Regions from separate parts of the Homo sapiens genome. Here regions 1 and 3 are each linked to region 2. Evidence: promoter capture Hi-C in human tissues and cell types (Jung and others, 2019). All regions are on one chromosome and are shown on one strand. The core of a region is centred on a gene start or on the middle of the fragment in contact, and the rest is flanking DNA. Distances in the headings are between cores, read along the strand shown. Region 1 overlaps LINC02558 (long intergenic non-protein coding RNA 2558). Region 2 holds the start of RFPL2 (ret finger protein like 2). Region 3 overlaps BPIFC (BPI fold containing family C).

Region 1 (3,431 bases), core at 688-3,187, 190 kb after region 2:
TCCTTTTTCTTTTTTTTTTTTTTTTTTTGAGACATAGTCTCACTCTGTCACCCAGGCTGGAATGCAATGGCGGGATCTCGGCTCACTGCAACCTCCGCCTCCTGAGTTCAAGCAGTTCTCCTGCCCTAGCCTTCCAAGTAGTTGGGATTACAGATGAGCACCACCACATCCAGTTAATTTTGTATTTTTAGTAGAGATGGGGTTTAACTATGTTAGCCAGGCTGGTCTCGAGCTCCCAACCTCAGGTGATCTGCCCACCTCAGCCTCCTAAAGTGCTGGGATTACAGGCGTGAGCCACTGTGCCCGGCCTCATCTCTGCTTTTTCTATGTTGACTTATTTCAAACTATTCTGAGTGTTTCCATGTGTGGAGTATGAATATTATTGAAAAGTATTTTTAAGTCATCTAGCATCCAGGTAAACACTACTAATAATTTTCCTCACAGCTTTTACGTGTGTTATTGTTTGTACATACACACACACCAAGTATACATATTTGGGGATCAAAGTGTGTACATATAGTTTCATAGCCTGTTTTTGTTACTCAGCACTTTTTAATGAAGATTTTCCTTGTTATTAAATTTTATTTAAAAATGGGCCAGGCACAGTGGCTCATGCCTGTAATCACAGCACTGTGGGGGCCCAAGGCAGGAAGATCACTTGAGCTCAGGAGTTTGAGATCAGCCTGGGCAACATAGTGAAACCTCATCTACACACACACACACACACAAAAATTTTTTTTTGAGACGGAGTTGTGCTCTTGTTGCCCAGGCTGGAGTGCAATGCCACAAACTCAGCTCACTGCAGCCTCCGCCCCCCACCCCGGGTTCAAGCAATTCTCCTGCCTCAGCCTCCTGAGTAGCTGAGATTACAGGTGTGCACCACCAGGCTCGGCTAATTTTGTATTTTTAGTAGAGACCAGATTTCTCCATGTTGGTCAGGCTGATCTCAAACTCCTGACCTCAGGTGATCTGCCCGCCTCGGCCTCCCAAAGTGCTAGAATTATAGGCATGAGCCACTGTGCCTGGCCCCCAAAATTTTTTTAATTAGCTGAGTGTGGTGGCACACACCTGTAGTCCCAGCTACTTGGGAGGCTGAGGTGGGAGGATCACTTGAGCCCAGCAGGTCGAGGCTGGAGTGATCACACCACTGCAGTCCCAGCCTCGGCAACAGAGTGAGACTCTGTCTCAAAAAAAAAAAAAAAAAAAAAAAAAAAAAAATACAATGAATGAATTGAAAAATCCAATAGAGAGCAGCAACAGCAGACTCAATCAGACAAAAGAAAGAATCAGCAAACTTGGAGACAGGTCATTTGAAATTATCAAAAGGAATGAAAATGAGTAAAGAAACCCTGTGAGACTTGTGGGATAACATCAAGGGAACCAATGTGTGCATTATGGCACCTCCAAAAAGAGAAGAGAAATAAGCATAAAAGCTTATTTAAAGAAATGATTACTGAAAAAAATCCCAAATCTGGGGAAAATTGACATCCAGATTTATGAAGCCCAAATTCTCCAAATAAGTTAAACCTAAAGAGTTCTACATCAAGATACATTATAATTGAATTGTCAAAACTCAAAGACAAAGAGGTAATTTTGAAAGCAGCAAGAGAAATGTGACTTTTCACATAAAAAGAAATCCCCGTGAGACTGTCAGTATGTCTCAGCATAAACCTTGCAGGCCATAATAGAGTGAGATAATATATTCAAAGTGCTGGCTGGGTGCAGTGGCTCACATCTGTAGTCCCAGCACTTTAAGAGGCCAAGATGGGAGGATTGCTTGAAACTAGGAGTTCAAAATCAGCCTGGGAAACATAGTGAGACCCCATATCTACATACAAAAATTAGCTGGGTGTGGTGGTGCATGCCAGTAGTCCCAGATGTTGAGGAGGCTGAGGTGGGAAAATCACCTGAGCCCAGGAAGTCAAGGCTTCATCAAGGTTTCAGCGAGCCATGATCACATAACTGCACTGCAGCCTAGGCAACAGAGTAAGACCCTGTCTCAAAACAACAACAACAAAAATAAAAGGTTCTAGGAAAAAAAAAAACCTACCAACCAAGAATACCATACCCAGCAAAACTGTCCTATAAAAATGAAGGAAAGACAAACAAAAACTGAGAGGGTTAATCACCACTAGACTTGCCTTATAGGAAGTGCTAAATAAAGTTTTTCAAGTTGAAATGAAAAGATGCTAAACAGCAACATGAAAGCATATGAAAGTACAAAACTTGCTAGTAAAGGTAAATATATGGTCAAAAACATAATAACATAATAAAGTAATGGTGATGTATAAATTATTTCTAACCCTAGTATAAAAATTAAAAAGGGAATAAAAATAACTTTGTCGGCCGGGCACGGTGGCTCATGCCTGTAATCCCAGGACTTTGGGAGGCCAAGGCAGGCAGATCACTTGAGGTCAGGAGTTCGAGACCAGCCTGGCCAACATGGTGAAACCCTGTCTCTACTAAAAATACAAAAATTAGCTGGGCGTGGTGGCAGTCGCATGTAATCCCAGCCACTCGGGAGGCTGAGGCAGGAGAATTGCTTGAACCCAGGAGGCAGACGTTGCAGTGAGCCGAGATCATCCCACTGCACTCCAGCCTGGGCGACAGAGCAAGACTCCAGCTCAAAAAAAAAAAAATCTTGTCAGCTTTAAAATAAACTGTTATAACTATATTTTATGCAAGCTTCAGGGTAAACACAAAAAACCTACAATAGATACACAAAATATTGAGAGAAAATAATCAAAGCATATCACTACCAAAAAAAATCATCAAATCACAAAGAAAGAGAGAAGAAACAAAGAATCTACAAAATGGAAAACAAGAAAATGACAGCAGTAAGTCCTTACCTATCAATAATTACTTTTAAATGTAAATGAATTAAACTCACCAATCAAAAGACATATAGTGGCTGAATGGACTTAAAAAAACAAAACGATTCAACTAAGTGCTATCTACAAGAGTTTCATTTTAGATATAAGAGCATACAGGTTAAAATTGAGGAGATGGAAAAAGACCCATGCAAATGGTAGCCAAAAGAGAGCAACTGTGGGAACTGATATTAGACACAATAGACTTTTAAGTCAAAAACTGTCACAAGCGGCTCACGCCTGTAATCCCAGCACTTTGAGACACTGAGGTAGGAGGATCGCCTGAGGTCAGGAGTTTGTGCCAGCCTGGCCAAGATGGTGAAACCCCATCTCTACTAAAAATACAAAATTTGGCCGGGCATGGTGGGAGGCACCTATAATCCCAGCTACTCAGGAGGCTGAGGCAGGAGAATCACTTGAACCCCGGAGACAGAGGTTGCAGTGAGCTGAGATCATGCCACTGCACTCCAGCCTGGGTGAGAGAGCGTGACTCCATCTAAAAAACAAACTGTCACAAGTGACAAAGTAGGTCGTTATACAATGACAACAGTATCAACTCAA
Region 2 (3,095 bases), core at 358-2,857:
GAAATGCTGTGTGCTGGCCAGGAGCAGAAGGAGATGGCCCTCTAGAGACTGGAGTCCCTCTCACCTCCTCTGACCACCGCTGTCACTGACACCTCCGCTGCCCACCACCAGGGGGACGGTGCAGCCCCCGATAGCGCCCCCGACCCTCCCCCACAGCTGGCAGTGTAGCACCAGATGGCAACCCCAACCCGCCCCTGCCTCGGACACTGCAGCACCAATGGCACCCGCAACCCACCCCCTGCCTTGGGCAGCGCAGCCCGGGATAGCGCCCCCAACCCGCTCCCTGCCGTAGGCAGTGGCTGTAGACAGTGTAGCCATGGGTAGCGACCCCAACCAGACCCCTGCCGTGGGCAGTGATGCCCCGATATGGCACCCAAATCGCCCCCTACCCCGGGCAGTGCAACCCTGGATAGTGCCCCTACCTGCTCCCCACCAGGAGAAGCAGCCCAGGATAGCACCCTCAACCCACTTCCTGCCTCCAGGCAGTGCAGCCACAGATAGCACCCAAACTTACTCCCCACCTCGGGCAGTGCGGCCACAGACAGCTCACCTAAACCACCCCCTGCCAAGGGCAGTGTAGCCCCCTATAGTGCACCCAACCTGCCCCTGCTGCAGCCAGTGCAGCCCCAGATAGCACACCCACCCGCTCCCTGCTAGGCAGTACAGACCCCTGATAGCACCCAACCCACCCCTCCACCGCAGGCAGTGTACCCGGCCCTCAATAGCGCCCCCAACCAACGCCCCCACCCCCTCTCCATGGGCAGTCCAGCCCCGGTACCAATCCCAACAACCCCCCGCTACCTGTCTCAGTGTAGCCCCCAGAGAGCGCCCTCAACAACCCCCTCCCCACTGCCAGCAGTGTAGCACCCTATAGTGACCCTAACCCGTCCCCCACCACCAGCATTGCAGCCCCAAATAGTGCCCCCAACCCGCTCCCCACTGTGGGCAGTGCAGCCATGGATAGTGTCCCCAACCAGCTCCCAGATGCAGGCAATGATGCCCTGGATATCACGCCCGCCCCCGTCCCCCACAGGCAGAGTAGCACCGGATAGCAGCACCCACCCTCGCCACCAGCAGTGTTGCACCCACCAGCCCCCCACAACCTGTCCCCAACAAGGGCATCAGGGCATTGCAGCACCTGATAGTTCTACTAACTCACCCCCGCCCCCCGGCCGCGGGCAGTGCATCCCCAGATAGTGCCCCCAAAACTCCCCACTGCCGCAGGAATTACAGCTTCGGATAGCGCCCCAACCCATCTCCAGCCATAGGCTGGATAGCGCCCCCGGATAGCGCCCCCACCCCACTCCCCTCAGCGGGCAGTGACGCCCGAGGTACCACACTCAAGCAGCCCCCCAACACGGGCAGTGACGCCCTGGATAGGGCCCCCAACCCGCCCCCCACGCCACAGGCAGTACGGCCTGGGATAACGAACCTATTCTGCCACCTTTTCACCATTCTGGCTGCGCTGTAGTCACCCTCGCGGCCACCAACCGCAGCAGCGAGGTGAGCCACTGTAGGCTCCAGCCTCCAGCATGCGCGGTAGATGACTCTAGCCTCTGGCATGCGCGGCAAGTGGCTCCTCCTCCTTCTCCTCTAAGCCGGGCACAGAGCAGCTACGCAGGCCGACGCAGATGAGCCTGGAAGGGCAAGCCACCCCTCTTGGCATCCTTTATATACTGAGTTTAATGCAAATGAAGTTTCTCGACTACATAGTCTGATCGGATGAGAGAAACCTCTAGGCCTACTCTGATCGGGCTTTGTTATCTTGTTCTGATTGGTTATCCTAAGACTTGCTGTCATCCAGTCAGAACGTGAAAATAAAGCACAATCAGAGTAGACCTAGAGGTTTTTCTCTCATCCAATCTGAACATGTAGTCCAGAAACCTTACTTGCATAACCTCGGTCTGTGGGGGGAGGGGTTCTTGCCATTCCAGGCACTTCTGCGTCTGCCAGCCCATCTGCTCCATGCCCAGGTTAGAGGAGGAGTCACCTGTCCCACGCTGGAGGCTTGAAAGCCTGCAGCAGCATGGCTCGGCTCGCTGCCGTTGGTGGCGGTGAGGGAGACTAGACCGCAGCCAGAATGTAGAAAGGTGGCGGGGTGGATGAGCTATCCAGGGCTCACTGCCTGCGGCAGGGGGCGGGGAGGGGGACAGGTTGGATGCACGATCTGGAGCTGCACTGCCCGAGGTGGGAGCGGGGGCGGATTGAGGGCGCCATCGTGGGCTACAACCCGGTGGTGGGAGGCGTGTTAGGGGCAGTATTGGGTGCTGCACTGCCTACAGCACGGGAAGGTTGGGTGCTTTACCGGACGTCATTTCCCGCAGCCGCGGGGTGGCTTGCTGGGGGCGCTATCCGTGGCTGCACTGGTCGCGCTGGGGTACGGGTTGGGGGCGCTATCTGGGACATCAGTGCGCATGGCAGGGAACTTGTTGGCTGTGATATCCGAGGCGTCACTGCCCTTGGCTGGGGGCTGGTTGGGGGCTCTATCTATGGGCTACACTGCCTACAGCCAGGAGCGTGTTGGGGCGTTATCGGGGCGGACTGCCAGTGGCGGGGGTGGGGGTGCGGGTTGGGTGCTATCGGGGGGCTTCACTGCCTGGCAGGGAGTGGATTGGGTGCGCTATTTGGGGTTGGACTGCCGGCGGTGGTTGACTCGGTGGGAGGAGAGGGGCAGAGGGAATGGGTTGGATGCACTATCGGGAGCTACACTGCCCGAGGCGAGGGGGAGATGGGGGCGCCATCGTTGGCTACACCGCATGTAGTGGGGGGCGTGTAAGGAGCAGTAGTGCGTGTTGCATTGCTCATGGCGGGGGAGGGTTGGGTGCGTTATCCCGGGCGTCATTTCCCACAGCGGCGGGGGTCAGTGGAGGGGCTTGTTGAGGGCGCTATCCATGGCTGCACTGGTCGCTGAGGGGCAAGGATTGGGGGCGCTACCTGGGACATCAGTGCCATGGTGGGGAACTTGTTGGGTGTGTTATCCGAGGCATCACTCCCCATGGCTGGGGGCTGGTTGGGGGCGCTACCCATGGGCTGCACTGCCCACAGCCAGGAGCGTGTATGGGACATTATCGGGGGCGGACTGCCAGTGGCTGGGT
Region 3 (3,450 bases), core at 18-2,517, 230 kb before region 2:
ACTGCAGCTTCAACCTCCCTGGTTCAAGGGATTCACCTCACTCAGCCTCCCAAGTAGCCGGAACTACAGGTACGCGCCACCACACCTGGCTAATTTTTGTATTTTTTATAGAAACGGGGCCTGCCATGTTGCCCAGGTTGATCATGGAAAAACAGTCATTCAATCAATTCAAACTCCAGTGTTCCAGTGATTCACCCGCCTCAGCCTCCCAAAGTGTTGGGATTATAGGCGTGAGCCACCACACCTGGCCCGAGCTTCTGGAATTCTTATTCTGACTTCAGAGGGTCCATCTTCTTAGTCTTCTTAGAATTTGAGTTTTCACCTGATACACTGGTCTTTCTCTCTCTTTTCCCACAGGGTGTATTCTACCCACTGGAAAACCTCACCGACCCCCCCTTCTCACCAGTTCCTTTTGTGCTCCCAGAACGCAGCAACTCCATGCTCTACATTGGAATCGCCGAGTATTTCTTTAAATCTGCGTCCTTTGCTCATTTCACAGCTGGGGTTTTCAATGTCACTCTCTCCACCGAAGAGGTGAGGAGAGTTAACTGAGGATGTCAATGGTCACCATCATTCAGCCTTTTTATAAGTATCCTATTGTAGAACTTTTATGCCACAATTTCGATTCTGGGACCTTTTTAGGCTATCACTCCCAGCAAGACAGTGAAGGAATGAGGGAATTGTGGAGTGAACATTGTTACGGGTTGAGCATCCCTTATCCAAAATGCTTGGGACCAGAAGTGTTCTGGATTTCGGATTTTGTCAGATTTTGGGATATTTGCATTATATATACTTACCGGTTGAGCAGCCCTAATCTGAAAATCCAAAATCTAAAATGCTCCAATAAGCATTTCCGTTGTGTATCATGTCAGCATTTAATAGTTGGATTTTGGGGCACTTTGAATTTTGGATATTCAGATTAGGAATGTTCAACCTGTATTAGTTGGGGAGTTGTCAAGTTTCCAGTTCTGCTAATACCTCACCACTCACCACTGTTCTAGATTAATCTCCAATAATAGCAAGATCCCTTTCCATCATGTATTGCCTGTGACCTTAGAGGTAATTTCAATTTATATAACTTCTGTGGGCCAGAATTTCTTCATCTGGAAAAGGCAGATAATAATAGTTCCTTACTCATAGAGTTTATATGGGCATTAAAAGATTTAAATACATGTCAAGCATTCAGACCAATCCCCAACACAGAATAAGTGCGATATAACTGTTGCTTATCATCATTGTCATCATTATTCCCTGTATTATGCTGACGTAAAGTTATCCTGGTTGTAATTACAGCTGGTTTATCTACAATGATCAGTAATAATACAGATATTCATTGATCCTCTGTCATGCACCTCCCTTTTATAATGACAGCACTGTCTCTAGCCAGTCAACCAAAAACTTTTATTGAGCATCTCTTTTTGAATCTCCTCATTCTATATGTTTTAATTATATAAGTAGGTATAAAGCTTATGTTCAGAATGGTAAGTATGGCAGCAGTGGCTATCTTACGATACTGAGAATTAGACACTTCTAGCTGCAGACTTCAAAATCATTTATCTCTGAAGGTAAATTCCTTAAGCATCCAGTATCTCAGTAATCCCTAAAAGTGAGGACAGTAACACAAGGCTTATCGTTAATGACTGTAGAATATGTATACATAGATAGATTGTAATATATATAAGTGAAGAATATGTACACATAGATTGTAATATATATATAAATAAAGACTATGTACATATAGATTGTAATATATATAAATGAAGAATATGTACACATAGATGTAATATATATAAATAATATGTATACATAGATTGTAATATATATAAAGAATATGTACACATAGATTGTAATATATATAAATAAAGAATATGTACACATAGATTGTAATATATATAAATGAAGAATATGTACACAGAGTGTAATATATATATAAAGACTATGTACATATAGAGTGTAATATATAAATGAAGAATATGTACACATAGATTGTAATATATATAAATAAAGAATATGTACACATTAGATTGTAATATACATAAATAAAGAATATGTACACATAGATAGATTGTAATATATATATAAAGAATATGTACACATAGATAGGTTGTAATATATAAAAATAAAGAATATGTACATATAGATATATATATATATAACTAAAACTTTGTTGTACTACATACGTACAATTCATGTGTAAACATTCTACAGTTATTAACAATAGACTGTATTGTTCCCAGAGTTAAAAGAAATATAACATCCTGTGTGACCTTGGGCAAGTCACTTTACTTCTCTGAGCCTCGGATTCCCTATGATTGGGCTATAAAATGATAGGTCACCTTTAAACACTGAATATTTTATGGTGTAACAGCTTCACAATTCGTCAAATTATAGGGAACACTACATTTTCCCTGAAAAGACAATCCACGTAAAATCCTAACAGTGACATAATGGGCTTTATTTTCCAGATTTCCAACCATTTTGTTCAAAACTCTCAAGGCCTTGGCAACGTGCTCTCCCGGGTAAGTGCTCAGGGTTTGAGTCTTGATAGTGTATTTGGCTCCATTGCAATTACTTCTGGAAGACTTGTGGGTTCTACGTATTCCTTTTTGGATAAGTCCCTCTGTCTATTATTGGGAGTTTTTTCTCGTAATCGAATATCTACAAATATTTACTGAACAGTACAGTTTAAAGTGCAATTAACATACAAGTGAGAGTATAATTGTAAGTTCACAAAATAAATCACCGTGCCTTCCACAATATTCCATCATACTTGAAATAATTAGTTTAAATAAAGGATTTATTAGTGGAAATGAAGGATTCAATTCTTAAATGAAGGATTAGTGCCCACACTTGTAACTGTAGTAAAAAGCAACTGTTAATATTGTGCCTTCGTAGCACACTAAGTATTGAACATAATGAACCTACGGGCTAGGGATTGCCCTTGAGGACAAAGAGATGTTCATGTAGCATCCTGGTTCTAGAGCAAGGATCTTGAGTCAGATAGACCTAGATTTGTTTTTGTTTGTTTGTTTTTTGAGACAGGGTCTCGCTCTGTCATCCAGGCTGGAGTGCAGTGGCACGATCTTGGCTCACTGCAATATCCGCCTCCCCTGCTCAAGTGATCCTCCCAACTCAGCCTCCCAAGTAGCTGGGACTACAGGCACAAGCCACTATGCCCAGCTAATTTTTCTATTTTTTGTAGAGGCAGGATTTCTCCATGTTGCCCTGGCTGGTTTCAAACTCCTGGCTTCAAGTGATCCACCGATCTCAGCCTCCCAACGTGCTAGGATTACAGGCATGAGCCACTGTGCCCAGCCCAGACCTAGATTTGAATCCCAATTCTACCACTTATTCCCCTAGAACCTTGAGAACATCATTTAACCTCTGTAAGACTCACGTTCTCCACTATGAAACAGGGATGCTGATAGAATCTGCCTCACAGGGATTTTC

The links. The method cuts DNA at HindIII sites, captures the fragments that hold promoters and counts their contacts. A contact is called where the count stands out against the background at its distance.
Region 1: a fragment that was not itself captured here is called in contact with the fragment with the promoter of RFPL2 in region 2 in 6 of the 25 tissues and cell types used here (IMR-90 fibroblasts, dorsolateral prefrontal cortex, heart left ventricle and 3 more).
Region 3: a contact is called between a fragment that was not itself captured here and the fragment with the promoter of RFPL2 in region 2, in 2 of the 25 tissues and cell types used here (lymphoblastoid cells and spleen).

Annotation. Positions count from the first base shown.
Region 1 is chr22:32,012,010-32,015,440 of GRCh38, reverse strand. All of the region lies in intron 4 of LINC02558 (long intergenic non-protein coding RNA 2558), which reads right to left. Among named protein-coding and RNA genes, the nearest start is that of SLC5A1, 30 kb to the left of the region's middle. The HindIII fragment of the contact is 4,927 bases long and covers 1-3,431 here.
Region 2 is chr22:32,203,585-32,206,679 of GRCh38, reverse strand. RFPL2 (ret finger protein like 2) reads left to right here and starts at 1,607. Exons shown (of 5, transcript NM_001394555.1): 1 at 1,607-1,973. SLC5A4-AS1 (SLC5A4 antisense RNA 1) reads right to left here and starts at 1,565. Exons shown (of 4, transcript NR_149072.1): 1 at 1,433-1,565. RefSeq lists an enhancer at 1-163. The HindIII fragment of the contact is 14,140 bases long and covers 1-3,095 here.
Region 3 is chr22:32,432,788-32,436,237 of GRCh38, reverse strand. It overlaps BPIFC (BPI fold containing family C), which reads left to right. Exons shown (of 17, transcript NM_174932.3): 10 at 358-534; 11 at 2,466-2,519. Among named protein-coding and RNA genes, the nearest start is that of RTCB, 22 kb to the right of the region's middle. The HindIII fragment of the contact is 8,775 bases long and covers 1-3,450 here.